2 separate regions of the Homo sapiens genome follow, and region 2 is linked to region 1. The links are contacts of gene promoters, found by promoter capture Hi-C in blood cells and fetal thymus (Javierre and others, 2016). All regions are on one chromosome and are shown on one strand. The core of a region is centred on a gene start or on the middle of the fragment in contact, and the rest is flanking DNA. Distances in the headings are between cores, read along the strand shown. Region 1 holds the start of TTLL5 (tubulin tyrosine ligase like 5). Region 2 holds the start of LTBP2 (latent transforming growth factor beta binding protein 2).

Region 1 (6,735 bases), core at 1,918-4,417:
ATAGCACACACATATCCAAAAGGACTCAGGGAGAATCTTAAAAATGAATTTTACCTTTAAACCAGATTCTCTCTTTACTCTGTGTCAAGCAATAATTAAAGGAGGCAAAAGAGCAAAGTGATCAAAATCCAGAAAAGCTAAGTCCAAATCTCAATGCATCACTTACTCTCTATGGGTCACTGAGGAAATTTCCTGATAAGACTGAGTTTAAAAAAGTGAAAATAATAACACCTTCAGATTTAAAAAGATATAAGATATAGATGAGATAAAGCCTTTATCGTCATCTGTAGTAGCTATATTTATCATTATCATTCTTTTTTTTTTTTTTGAGATGGAGGTTTGCTCTTGTTGCCCGGGCTGGAGTGCAATGGTGAGATCTCAGCTCACTGCAACCTCCACCTCCCAGGTTCAAGCCATTCTCCTGTCTCAGCCTCCCGAGTAGCTGAGATTACAGATACCCACCATCACGCCCAGCTAATTTCTGTTTTTTTAGTAGAGATGGGGTTTCACCATGTTGGCCAGGCTGGTCTTGAACTCCTGACCTCAGGTGATCCGCTCACCTCGGCTACCCAAAGTGCTGGGATTACAGGCATAAGCCAACACACCTAGCTATTATTCATTCTTATTGTGATGATCCAGTAATCATGAAATTGGACTCTTAACTAAAAGAACTCAGGAAAGCAGTGTGGGTCAATGGACACAACACAGGCTATAGAACTCTAATATCCTGCCTCAGAGTTACTATGGTAAGTTACCTGACCTCTCTATATTACCACCATTTTATCATTGTAAAGGCTTTTGAGAAAATTAGCAAACGTAACTAATGTTGTAGAGTTTGGACATGCTTTTCTTCAATACTTAAACATTTCAAAATCTTCTGTTGGGAGTTCTGAGCAAGAGTTCACCAAGAGCTACTACTTGCATTTTACAACATCTAGAGCTGATGTTCACTTATGGGCCCAGAAAGAGAGCCTTATCTCATTTCTCATAGCTGATAGGGACTGAGTAACAAGACCTTAAATGACATTATGGATAGAAGCTAAAACCAGAGTTAGATAATCCCCAAGGAATGACACTAGATAAAAGAGTACATAAGTAAAAGAGAAGAGTATATAGTAAAACAGTATATAAGAGTATATAAGTGAAAGAGTACAAAGCACAGGTTGAAAGCAGGCTTGCTATTACTTACTCTTGACTTATGACCTCCTCATCCTCTGAGGATGATGCTGTTTCCTCCAGGTCCCGGGCCATCACGATTGGCATTTCCTTTAGGGTTTGTCATGCAGTCAGCAGACGGGGGCCTCAGAGACCTTTCCTAGCAGATTCACTGGATCAAGCAATTTGGATGGCACAGATTCCTGCAAGAAATCAACTTGATTGGATCAATTGACCTGAAACACAATGCAGTTGTCTATTTATTGGTTATTGCTGATAATCTAAGTAATGAAAATGACTATATTCCTAAACAGTGCTCAACCTCTAGAAGTTTACTTTCCATAACATATGGAATGTGCCTCAATATGTGCCTCAATATGCCACAAAAATCAAGATTTTTTTCAAACATACAGTCTGTGCTCTATATATTTGAAGAGCTGTTACTAAGTTTGAGTTTCTCATTATTTACTAAATCGAATATGCACCAAAAGGATAGACTCCTCACTTTCACTCAGTTTGAGGCAGGTGACTGATTCCCTAAAACATATATTCCTTGCTAGACAAACCTGGCCTGGGTTAAAAATAAATAAATAAAAACTCAAGGTTTAAGACCCTTGCAGGCCGGGCAGGGTGGCTCACGCCTGTAATCCCAGTACTTTGGGAGGCCAAGGCGGGCGGATCACCTGAGGTCGGGAGTTCGAGACCAGCCTGACTAACATGGAGAAACCCCGTCTTTACTAAAAAAAAAAAAAAAAAATACAAAAAATTAGCCGGGTGTGCTGGCTCATGCCTGTAATCCCAGCTACTCGGGAGGCTGAGGGAGGAGAATCGCTTGAACCCGGGAGGCGGAGGTTGCGGTGAGCCAAGATCGCGCCATTGCACTCCAGCCTGGGCAACAAGAGTGAACTCCGTCTCAAAAAAAAAAAAACAACAAAAAACCCCTGCCAACATTTATTTAGACTCTATGACAAGCACGCTGACAAGATGCCATCATGTTTCCAGTAAAATAAATTCAACAATGAACCGAAAGATGAATATATTCTCTTGAATCAAAGGTCCATATAAATAGGTGGGGGAGGGGAGGAATGCCCTTCCACTCTTAAAAATTATTCTTCCTAAAAATCACAAAGTTTGGTACGACTCTCAAATAGACGATGAAATTAGGAAATTTCCAACACTGCATTTCTAACTTAAAATATTTTTTCTAAAGTAAAAAAGTACATGTTCGTTGTGTGTGTCAGAAGAAGAAATAGGAACTACAAATAAAAGAAACATGTTTAAATGACCATAATCCCAAATTACTCAGCGATAATTACTTGCTGTCAATCCTTCTTAACTTTTCCATGCATTCATAAATACGATGAGACTGTAAATAAGACAAAAAAAAAACAGACCCCGATAATGATCAAAGATCTTCGGCGCAATAGGCAATGTCTAACAACTTCAATGGCTTTCTTCAGGGGATTCTCAACGGGATTTCTTGATCTTTCCCAAAATGCTGGGAAGCCCTTTAAGTTTAAACAAACAAAACCTCCAAACGGGAAGGGATGCCAACCTCTCCTAGGCTGCCTGCAGAGCGGGGAGAAACAGGTCTATCGGAAGAAGAGTAGAGATACTCACCTAAGGAGACTCCTCTCCCGAAAGGAATCTGCTTCTCAGCCCCACCCCCAGCTCACCCCAATCCCACGTAGGTCCGCAGATGCTCCCCCCGGGAAGGACGGGACGACCCCGCAGCCGCGATTCAACGCGGCGCGCCCGGAAGCCAACAGCTACTCCCGGGCTCTGAGCGGGAAGTCCTGCTGCAGGCGCCAGCCCGGACCCGGGAATGCTCCTCCCTAGGGTAGGGAAGCGCGCGGGCGCAGGCGTTTACCTGTCTCATCTTCCCATGGTTCGGGGCGAGCAGGCGTGGACCGCGCTCTGCGCCTACCTCCCTCCTCCTTCCCCAGGAAGGCTCAGGGCAGCCGCCGACGGCTGCTTCCCCGGTTACTACAACAACCAACAAGCAACCGCCCGCTCGGAGCCACTGCGCAGGCGCTCATAACGCTCAGCTGCGGACGCGGGCGAATGTCGTCACCGCCGCGCAGCGCGGGCGCAGAGCCCTGCCCTCAGCTGAAGGGAGTCTTCTTTTTTTTTTTTTTTTCCGCTGTTTTTTTCTCCGCCCCTAAGAGGTTGACTCCAAACCCGGAGTTCCGCTAGGTCCAACAGGAGGGCTTACGGCGTGAGCGGCGTACCTGGGGAGAGGCTTAGGCAGCGGCAACCGCTGATTGGCAGTAAAGGGGTTCACTCCCCATCTCCTGCTCGGGCGAAACCGGGACAGCCAATCAGAGAGAGTACTGACGGAAACGGCCCAATCCTGGAGCAGGGCTGAGGGAGGGGGCGGGGACAAATGGCTCAGGTGGACTCCGGGCTGGAGCTGTCCTGGGGGAGCTTGTTTGCGGCAGCGGCTGCTGCTGCCACTGCTGTGCTGGGGGCCCGGTCGCCAGGTAAGGAGAATATGGGGGAGAAGAGGGATGTAGGTGTCTGTGTTGCTTCTGATTGAGAGGATCCGGAGAGTCTGGAAAAATGGAGGTGGGATGGAAGGAAGATAACTGGAAGGCAACCTTTTGGGGGGAAAAGGTTTCGAGAGGCGATGACAAGGGGGAGCTAGGAAGATGGAGAAGGCTTGGTGAATTCAAGGAACGAAGGAATGGATGAGCGAATGAGCAGCCACTATGAGCCTAGCACTGTACAAAGAGCCTTCACTTTTTGTCATATAATTCTTACAATAGCCCTTCGGGTTGATATTTCTATCTCCATTTTGCAGATGAGGAAACCGAGACTGAAAAGTGTAAATGACTTACCCAGGGTCACACAGCTACTAAGTGGTAGGGCCAGGATAAGAATCCCTTTCTCCTGATTAAGTTTTAACAGCACACCTATGCTGGGCTGGGCTTGGCTGGGCTGGGCCAGGGCCAGGACAAAATTTGGAAATAGATGTTGTATACACTCTAAGAGGCCCTTAAGCTTTAGGGAAATTAGGTTGAGAAATTGGCAGAGCAATTCAGAAGTGCTCAGGCTCTGTCCTCATCAGCTATCTGTTGGGATTTCTAACAGATAACACTTCTGTGAAATGGAAGGCATACTTGTGCAGAAAAGTGGAGAGGTGCATCCATGCAGCTTTTCTAAACCCCGGAGGAGTCTCCTCTTGAGAGAGAGTGAGAAAATAAAGAGGATGGGTGGATCTTGGCCCAAATGATAATGGCCTGTGATGTCCAGTAGACCCTCAGTCTCTCTGATCTTCGACAGAGACCACCTTTGTGATCCAGCTCTCCCTGAAGGGCTCATCAATTCACCCTTCCTTCTCTAGATCTCTTTATTGCTTGTTTGGGGCGGGGAGTTGGCGGGGGGGGGCGGCGGTGTTTCACACTGTCTTGGGCCATTGCTGACTTTAATATCTGTCCCACTGGGTAGCAGAGAACAATACCGAAACTTGTATTGCCAAAGTGACAAAGAAAGCCTGTTAGTTTATTACCACTTCAGGCCCAAGAGGTTAACCTGACAACAGATAAACCGTGGACCAAGAAAATAATAATGAGGATGGGAAAAAGTCATTCCATTATTAGATTATTTATCTATTTTGGTTTTATTTAAATCAGACTAACTGAAATTACTACTCAACAAGAGTTGAACTAAGCCTTAAAAAAAAAAAAAAAAAGGCTGGGTGCTGTAGCTCACACCTGTAATCCCAGCATTTGGGAGGCGAGGCCAAGGTGAGTGGATCAGTTGAGCCCAAGTGGAGAGGTTGAGGTAGGAGGATCACTTAAGCCTTTGATTTCAAGGCTGCAATGAGCCATGACTATGCCACTGCATTCCAGCCTGTGTGACAGAGCAAGACCCTGTCTCAAAAAAATAAATAAATAAATAATAAATTAAAAAACAAAAAGTATGTAATCTAATTGTATTTTCCATACAACTTGAAGACAAAAGTGGATATGGTATGCTTTTCTTTCTCAAAAAATGGGAACTTCATTAAAATAGTCTCAAACAATGAGGTAGCACTGCAGCAGTCCAGCAGACCATGATTCTTATCTCAGCTCTGCCAACTTTGCTGTGTGACCTTAAGAAACTTGTTTAACCTCTCTGTTCCAACCCTCATCTGTAAGATGGAAATATTAATAGTGCCTGCTTACCTCATTGTAAAGATTAAATGGTAATATATGTTAGGTGCTTGGCACAGTTCACGGTGTAAGTGCTCAATGACTGAAACCTATTATTTTCTTGCAACCCAACACCAAGATTGCTGTTTCCTTCGCTATATAATTTTCTTACTAGTCCTAAACTCACACGTTAACTTAAACACACACAATTTATAAATTTGGAAAAAAGGAAAAGAGGCTTTATCTCTTGCAAAGGGTTACAGCCACCCAACAGGGAAGAGTGCCTCCCACCAAGACCAGAGACAGTTACTTTGAAGGAGAAGGGTTTGGGGTAGAGCTTCATGCTGAACAGGTTTGCTAAACATACACATTCGACAGGTTACAGGAGGAGCTGTGAATATTCCTGAAGGTTGTCCTGACACATGCATATTGAACAAACATATGTAACCACATATGAACCCTGTTCACTTTGGAGTGGAGACCTAACATTTAAGTCTATCACACCTAGGCTCTATACGTCAAAAAGTCTTTTCAGGACACCAAGACACTCAAGTGTGTGATCCTGCTAAACTGGCCAGGAGCAGTCCACGGTTGGTGGTCTTATCTGGAGAAAATTACTGAAATCAGTCTCTTGTCCAATCAAAGCTGTAGTTACAACTGGTGGAACAGGGGTCAGGTAGTCAGCCTCTGTGAGCTGGATGAGCTGCAATTGTTTTAATATTGCTTATCTCAAGGCCAGTGTTCATCTAGCTGCTGGAGAAAAAAAAAACCTTGTGGCAGAATATAACTTTTATTCTTTAAATGTAGGAGTGTGTAACTTAACCCTTGCCTGGCATGGCCTTAGGTCTTGTTTATAATTTGGTATCTTATTGCACAAAGAATCTGTTGTGTCATTCTTATGATCTCTATTTTAACTTTAATGCTGGTAAGTTGCTGTCTCTAAACCTGAAAACACAACGAATATAACAGGGCATGTCAGACCTCCCATCTTGTCATGGCCAGGAGCTCAGTTTTAGGATTTTTCTGGGGTCCCCTAGGCCAAGAGGGGCTCTGTTCAGTCCGTGATGGGCTTAGGATTTTATTTGGAGTTGACACACAGCAGTTTATTTTTAACTTTTAGATTGTTCTTCTAGTTTATGGAGCATGGTATACCTGAGAACCAGAGTCCAGAAAACCTAGGGATGTAAATAGTGACCTCACACCATAAGTCCTACTCAAATTTATAAAGTTCCATACACTTGGAAGAATCCGTCATCAATAGCCAGGCAGGTGTCTGTGAGTATAGTTATAATCGCCTTTGAGCTATTTGCATTACGAAGGAATGGCATGAAAACATGAAGGTATAGAAGTAAAGATAGAGGACTGATTCCAACCCAGAAAAAGGAGTTCTGATTTAGGGTAATATTTTGGAGAAATTGCTTAGACAAGGATAAGTACTGTGCCA
Region 2 (6,735 bases), core at 4,136-6,635, 1.0 Mb after region 1:
ACAGAAGACGGAAATGAGCTCAGAACTGTGCTCCGCTCACAGAAGACGTAAATGTTCACCACATGTTTGTGGGAGGGCCCTTTCCAGCACACTCTGAAATACAGGCCAGCTCACCTTACCTTTGCAGGAACATCCATACCATGGCTATCACCACCAGCCAGCATGTCATACCCACTTGGAGGAGACAGGCACCGGCAGACCAGGGCAGGGTGGTTGTGAATTCTTGAGGGGACGCCAGGTCATGGCACCTAAGGTGGAATGGTTCTGGCAGCCTTTGCGGGCCTTAACAACCTCACACAGGAGGGAGTCGGCACCTCTCTGTACGGCCTGCACCTTCCAAACTGGAGGCTGAGGCTGCGCAGTGCTGGGGTCCCAGCTGCCCAGTGTCTGGAGCAGAACATCCAAGCCCATGAGCGGCTCCCGTCTGGAAGGCTGGGGGCCCAGTCAAACTTTCCTTCAGCGATTCTGCCCTCTGATTAACCAGGAAATGTGTTATTTGTTCTGAGCAGGGGAACAAGCTCTCCTGGGGAGAGGAATTCAGGGCTGGAGGTCCAGTTACTTCCAAGCAAGAAAAATCCCTGGAATTCTTTCAGGAGTCTGGGTCTCAGCAAAGGGGGCCGAAATGTGGCCCTTGTTTTTGGTCCTTATTTACCAAATTAGCTCAGGTTCTGGTAGACCTCTGGCTGCCAACATTATTCCAGTGAGACATGGAAAAGCAGTGAGTTTGCCCTGGGAGTCCAGGAGACTGCTGTCCCTTGCATGGGGCATGTGTCTGGGCAAACCTTTCCCTGCTGGAATCTCTTTATCAACCCTTTAGACTCTCTCTGCCGGGTTTTCCAGAGATGATTTTCCTCTCCAGACCCAAGAGATGGGTGAGTAGGCTTAGCAGCGATCTAATGAGGGAGAAGGCTTTAATCAGGGGGTGGGGAAGTGACACACGGTGAGTCAGCGGCCATGCTGAAACAGCTTCCCTTCTTTCACTGGGCCAAGAGGATTAAGGGTGGCAGAAAGTTCTGATAACTCCACATCTCCAGGTACATGAGCTCCAGGTACATGAACAGTGGGCTGGCAGGCAGGGAAGAGGGCATTTGGGGATATGCCCTAGAGCTCCTTTGGTGGTGATAGTGGTGGGGTGGTTGGAAAGGTCATGATTCAATTGTGAAGAGGGCTCCAGGCTTACAAGCCCGGGGTGGAGGCAAGGCGGTGTAACCTTAAAAGCTTGGGCTCAGGTGGAAAATGATCCAGGTTTGAATCCTGCCTCTGCTATTTATCAGCTGTGCCATCTTGGGCAAGCCAGTAGCCATTGCCAACCTCAGTTTCCTCCTTTGTATGCGTGGAAATCATAATGCCTCCTTTGGTTGGTTAAATCAGCCAATTGATGTAACATGCTTAGTATGGCGTTTGGACTAAAGTAGGCTCTATCGATTTTGGCAGGTTAAAAAAAAAAAGCAAAACTCAAGTGTTTGTGGGATTGGAGATTCTGAAGAGCTGCAATCAGTCCCAGCAGTTAGAGGGTAAGGGAGATATGGGCAGTAAGTAGGTGGCAGGACAGAGTGTGGCGCCGGGATGGGGTAGAAGATGCCAGTCTTTGGAGTAGATGAACTGGGTTATGGTCCCCAGGCGAACAGGGTGGGAACGTCCAAGGACCACTTGTACTCACTGAGGAGTGGAAGGGGCGCCCGATGGTGAGGGAAAGTTGGTCTGCGTGAGGGTTTTGGCGGAGGCGAAGGGTGAGGGATGAATGGGCGGCAGACTTCCAGAAATGCAGACGGAGGAGACGGAGCAGTAATAATGACTTGGACACACAGGAGGAAAAAATAGCTCAGGGACGAAGATGATGCCAAGGTTTCTGGCTTTTGGAGGCCCACGGGGATCTGAGGTGGGTCTTGAGGGATCTAGAGGGGAGCTTCTGAAGGAAGTGGGTAGGTTCCGGGGAGAGGAAGGGAGCCCAGAACTACAGAGGTGGGTGGATATCTGGGCAAGGAGAGGTAAGTGTGGACCTGGGGCTTCCACAGCTGTGAAGGAGCAGCATCCCAGGAACAGAACGCAGCATTCTGGGAACTAAGGGGCATTCATGGTCAAATGCAAGGGGTAGGGTTCAAGGAGATCTTTAGAGCCAGCCCCAAAGGCAGCAAGCACATGAACCTGGATCAGGAGCTGCCACCCAGAACTCAGTTCCTCTCTCTTAAAATGGGTCTAATGATACCAGCCCTCCCCACTTGATGGGATTACTGTGTCCTTCATTCAGTTAGCTATCCATTTCACACATACTTCTTGGCTGTTCTAGGTTCTGCAGAAACAGTGGTGAGCAACGCAGACAAGATATCTGTTGCTTTAGAGCTGTCATTGTGGTTTGGGAAGTCAGACAAGAAATGATTTTATAGGTTGTTGAATAGGACTTTTCCTCTGCTCTTGGAATATCTGCTGAAGCCACAAAGATAGAACAATGAGGGCTAAATATTCTTGCATTCTGAAGAGAAGTACTAGACACCTTACTAAAGGCAGAACAGGTTCAACAGCAATCAAACTACATCCCTCAATTCCAGTCTACAAATGAAAGGGATTGAAGAAAGTCACTGAAGCATAACACTGCTGCATTTGTGGGCAGGGCTGAGATTTCCCCTGAGGGAACTCCCCAACTCAAACCAAATGAAGGGAGCTCCCAGAGAGAACCAGTCATCTGCAAGAAGAGGAGGCTCTGTCCCTATAACTGTCCCCCCACTGATGCTGACTATGTTGCTGGATGTTACAGGCACCTCGGTGCATTAAACTACAGCAAGACAGTTCATGGGAGAACCCAACATATGTCTTTAGGAATTGAGGACGTACATAAATGAAGAGACTTGTGTGCACTTCCTGTCTGGAGAATTCTGATCGTGGAGCCTCGCTGGAGTGGCCTGTGTGGCAAGGTGAGAAGTGGGCAGGGTGAGGAGCGGCCAACCCACCATTGTTTTGCCTGGCATAGGTGGGACAGTCCTATGAGAGACAGAGGATGCAGGGGTCTCCGAGAGGTTGGCCAGAGAGTAATTTGCTATGGCAACTCAGGGTGGAGGTCCTGTAGAGAACCTCCCAAAAACCCACATATGTGCCCATGAAAAAGCCAGCGCTTGGCACCTGCCAACCAAGGGTACCTGTCACATAAGACTTTGCTACTTTTCCTCTAACACCTCTCTCCCAGCCTTGACAAAGAGGAGCCACAGCAGAAAAGGGAGGTCAGGAAAACAGACCACACCCCACTCTCACCACTGCAGGATCTCTAGCAAAGGGACAGGGGAGAGGAGGACTATTAAATGGGATGTGATATTGATTAACTTGGATGAGATTTTGATCTGGACAGGAGCAGACTTTTTGTGTCTGAAAATGGGTCTTAATTATATTAATAGAATAGTTCTCGTGTCTGGTAGGGATGACCTCTCAAGCCAAGGACTCTGCCTGAGATGTCATTAAGGGTGGGAAAGGGAAATTTACCATAATATGGTTGAAGGTAGTAGTGGAGCAGTTTCTGGATAGTCCCTCTTTAGGTTCAGCCCATTAAAAAATTCAGTTACACGAGCAAACAAATCAATAACAAGATGATGTCAACTGTTTTATGAAGATGAAACAGGGTGGTGTGTTAGAGTCATGACTGGGGTGAGGGAGGGCTGCTCTAGATTGGAGGTCAGGGATGGCTACTCCAGGAGCTGATATTTAATCTGAGAGGAGCAGTGATGAGGAACTACCCTCTAACATCCTGGAGAGGAACCTTCCAGTAGAGGGAAGGGGGCATTCACTTGGCTTGTTCAAGGAGCAGAGAGAGGGCCAAGGCAGCACAGTGTGGTGGGTAAGGGAGAGCAAGAGGCCAGATGAAATCAGAGCGGGGGCAGCCAGCTAGGGTTTGTAGGCCAAGGCCAGGGGTCGAGGCTTTATTTCAACAGTAGATATTACCTGGGCTTGTCTTTTGTGTGGTGTGGGAGGTTGTGAACTGGTGCCCACATGCCAGCTCCTTCACTCTGCCTCTCTGGGAAATAGGCTGTACAAATGTGCCAGGGGCAGCCCTGTTGATCCAAGCCTTTAGGCTGTAGGGAGGGAGCATGGGTGAGAATGGTGTGCTGATTACTGGGGACACGCAGACAGCGGCAGTCAGCATTCCCACACCCCTGCCCGCCTCCCTGCTAACACAAGATGTGAATGCACACACTGGGTCAATCGGGGTCACCGAATCCCCCTCTGGGAAATTCCCGAGAGAGTGAAGGGCTGGGTGGGATCCCGGGAATGGATTCAGCCAGAGGCGGGAGGCCTAGATTCCACTCCCCTCTTTCACATGCGCTATCTCCTTGAGTGACTTACTCAAGAGGCTCCGTGTCTTTGCCTCGGTGAAAAAGAGGACCCCTTGGCCGGGCGTGGTGGCTCACGCCTTTAATCCCAGCACTTTGGGAGGCCGAGGCGGGCGGATCACCTGAGGTTGGGAGTTCGAGACCAGCCTGACCAACATGGAGAAACCCCGTCTGTACTAAAAAATAAAATAATATACAAAATTAGTCAGACTTGGTGGCGCATGCCTGTAATCCCAGCTACTAGGGAGGCTGAGGCAGGGGAATCGCTTGAACCCGGGAGGCGGAGGTTGCGGGGAGCTGAGATCGCACCATTGCACTCCAGCCTGGGCAACAAGAGCGAAACTCCGTCTCAAAAAAAAGAAAGAAAGAAAGAAAGAAAAGAAAAAGAAAAAGAAAAAGAGGACCCCTCTTCTACCGGCAGCCATCACCGCGCCAGGCTCAGGCGTGACCCTCACGCCAGTGGAAGGGGATTGAGATCCAGAGCGAAGGCGGCGGCGCCAGGGCATTGCAGCCACGGAGCGCCAGGGCCGCCAGCTCCGCCAGGGGGCGCGCCCGGGACCTCCCTGCGCTCCGCGCGCCGCGCCCCGCCCCGCGCCACCCCCGCTCCGGCCGGCCCTGCGGAGGGCGCCCCCAGCGGCCAGGGCGCAAGCGGAGGGGGCGGCGGCCCTGTTCCCCTACGCGGGCCTCGGCGCCCCTCCCGGCTTCCTTCAGACCTGCAAGGCTGCAGCCTGGGTCCCCCGATCCAAAGACGGTCCCTGAGGCGAGGGGCGGGAGAACGATTCGGGGCAGGTCTGCAGTTCGAACTTGCCCAGAGCAGGAGAAAGGCGGCCCAGTGTCCCGGTCGTGGCAGGCGCCATCTGCCCGACCAGCGCCTGGGTCAGCCCCGCGCCGCCCCCTGCTCCGCACGGGTTAATCCCCCTCGCCGCCCGCTCGCCGCCCGCTGGCTTCCCGGTGCCAAAGTGGGTGTTGCTGGAATTCCTCGCTCCCTCTCCGGTAATGAGGGGGCTGAGCTGTCCCTCCGAGGAGGGGGCCTGGTGTGGATAAAAGAGACGAAAAAGCCGGGGGAGGTTTCCAAAAATAAAACCGTCCGGGTCCCCTTCAGACGGCTGCAGGCACAGGGAGGAGGCGCGAAGGTGCAGCAGCCGTGCGAGCCCAGCTGGAGTAGGAGCGCGGACTCGAGGCTCGGGGCGCGCAGCCCTCGTTCCGCCGAGAGCCGGGCCCCCAGTCGGCCGCTTCAGGGCCCCCTAGACTCAGAGAAGCTGGCCGCCGGGCGGGGCCGGGAGAACAGCCCGCGGGCGTCCAGCGTGCCGACCACAAAGCTCTTCGCGGTGCCCGCGCGCACCACTCTCCAGCCGCCCCGCGCCATGAGGCCGCGGACCAAAGCCCGCAGCCCGGGGCGCGCCCTGCGGAACCCCTGGAGAGGCTTCCTGCCGCTCACCCTGGCTCTCTTCGTGGGCGCGGGTCATGCCCAAAGGGACCCCGTAGGGAGATACGAGCCGGCTGGTGGAGACGCGAATCGACTGCGGCGCCCTGGGGGCAGCTACCCGGCAGCGGCTGCAGCCAAGGTGTACAGTCTGTTCCGGGAGCAGGACGCGCCTGTCGCGGGCTTGCAGCCCGTGGAGCGGGCCCAGCCGGGCTGGGGGAGCCCCAGGAGGCCCACCGAGGCGGAGGCCAGGAGGCCGTCCCGCGCGCAGCAGTCGCGGCGTGTCCAGCCACCTGCGCAGACCCGGAGAAGCACTCCCCTGGGCCAGCAGCAACCAGCACCCCGGACCCGGGCCGCGCCGGCTCTCCCACGCCTGGGGACCCCACAGCGGTCTGGGGCTGCGCCCCCAACCCCGCCGCGAGGGCGGCTCACGGGGTGAGCATGGGAGAGGGAAGTTTGGAGGGTACAGAGGGGAGCCAGGGCTCATTTGTGGAGGGGCGTGCAGGCGAGAGGAGAGGGCGCCGCTCTCATACCCTCGTCCCTCTGTCTTTAGTACTTCGGGAAACAGCCCCGAGGTTCCAAAATCGGGATTGGAAGATTTGATCCGCTTTCGAAGAGTTGAAGGCAGATAGATCATCATCCTCATCCTTTCTTACCAACTCTCCCGGAGCCCCGACGTTAAATCCTTTCGCAAGGCGCCTCTCCACTCGCCCGCGTTCCTCCTGCCTGCAACTAACGAGCTCTTGTAGACTCTTGCAGCGCTGCCGGGATCTGAGAGGCAGCGGGGAGAGGGCAGGAGGGTGGGCGCTCCAGGCTCTTGACGCCCAGGGGAGGTTGAGCTGGCTCAGAGCGCGGGTTGGCGGAGGTGTCGGGGGCCCCATGGAGAGAAGGTAGATGCGTCTCCAGGAGGGGAGCCGGCAGCGAAGCTGGTGCGTCGGGACAAGTGTCGTGGGGCGTGGGTCGGCCTGCGCACGCTGAGGGCTGGATGCGGGCGTGGGC

The links. The method cuts DNA at HindIII sites, captures the fragments that hold promoters and counts their contacts. A CHiCAGO score of 5 or more calls a contact.
Region 2: a contact is called between the fragment with the promoter of LTBP2 here and the fragment with the promoter of TTLL5 in region 1, in 1 of 17 cell types (neutrophils). The highest score is 5.3, in neutrophils.

Annotation. Positions count from the first base shown.
Region 1 is chr14:75,657,678-75,664,412 of GRCh38, reverse strand. TTLL5 (tubulin tyrosine ligase like 5) reads right to left here and starts at 3,167. Exons shown (of 32, transcript NM_015072.5): 1 at 3,026-3,167; 2 at 1,190-1,358. The coding sequence starts at 1,263. It overlaps ERG28 (ergosterol biosynthesis 28 homolog), which reads left to right and starts at 3,537. Exons shown (of 5, transcript NM_007176.4): 1 at 3,537-3,638. RefSeq lists an enhancer at 3,096-3,315 and a silencer at 3,426-3,475. The HindIII fragment of the contact is 4,369 bases long and covers 1-4,160 here.
Region 2 is chr14:74,610,887-74,617,621 of GRCh38, reverse strand. LTBP2 (latent transforming growth factor beta binding protein 2) reads left to right here and starts at 5,385. Exons shown (of 36, transcript NM_000428.3): 1 at 5,385-6,171. The coding sequence starts at 5,678. It overlaps LOC101928352 (a long non-coding RNA gene), which reads right to left and starts at 4,437. Exons shown (of 2, transcript XR_944029.4): 1 at 4,327-4,437; 2 at 3,574-4,055. RefSeq lists enhancers at 1-93, 4,702-5,329 and a silencer at 4,755-5,074. The HindIII fragment of the contact is 11,176 bases long and covers 1,221-6,735 here.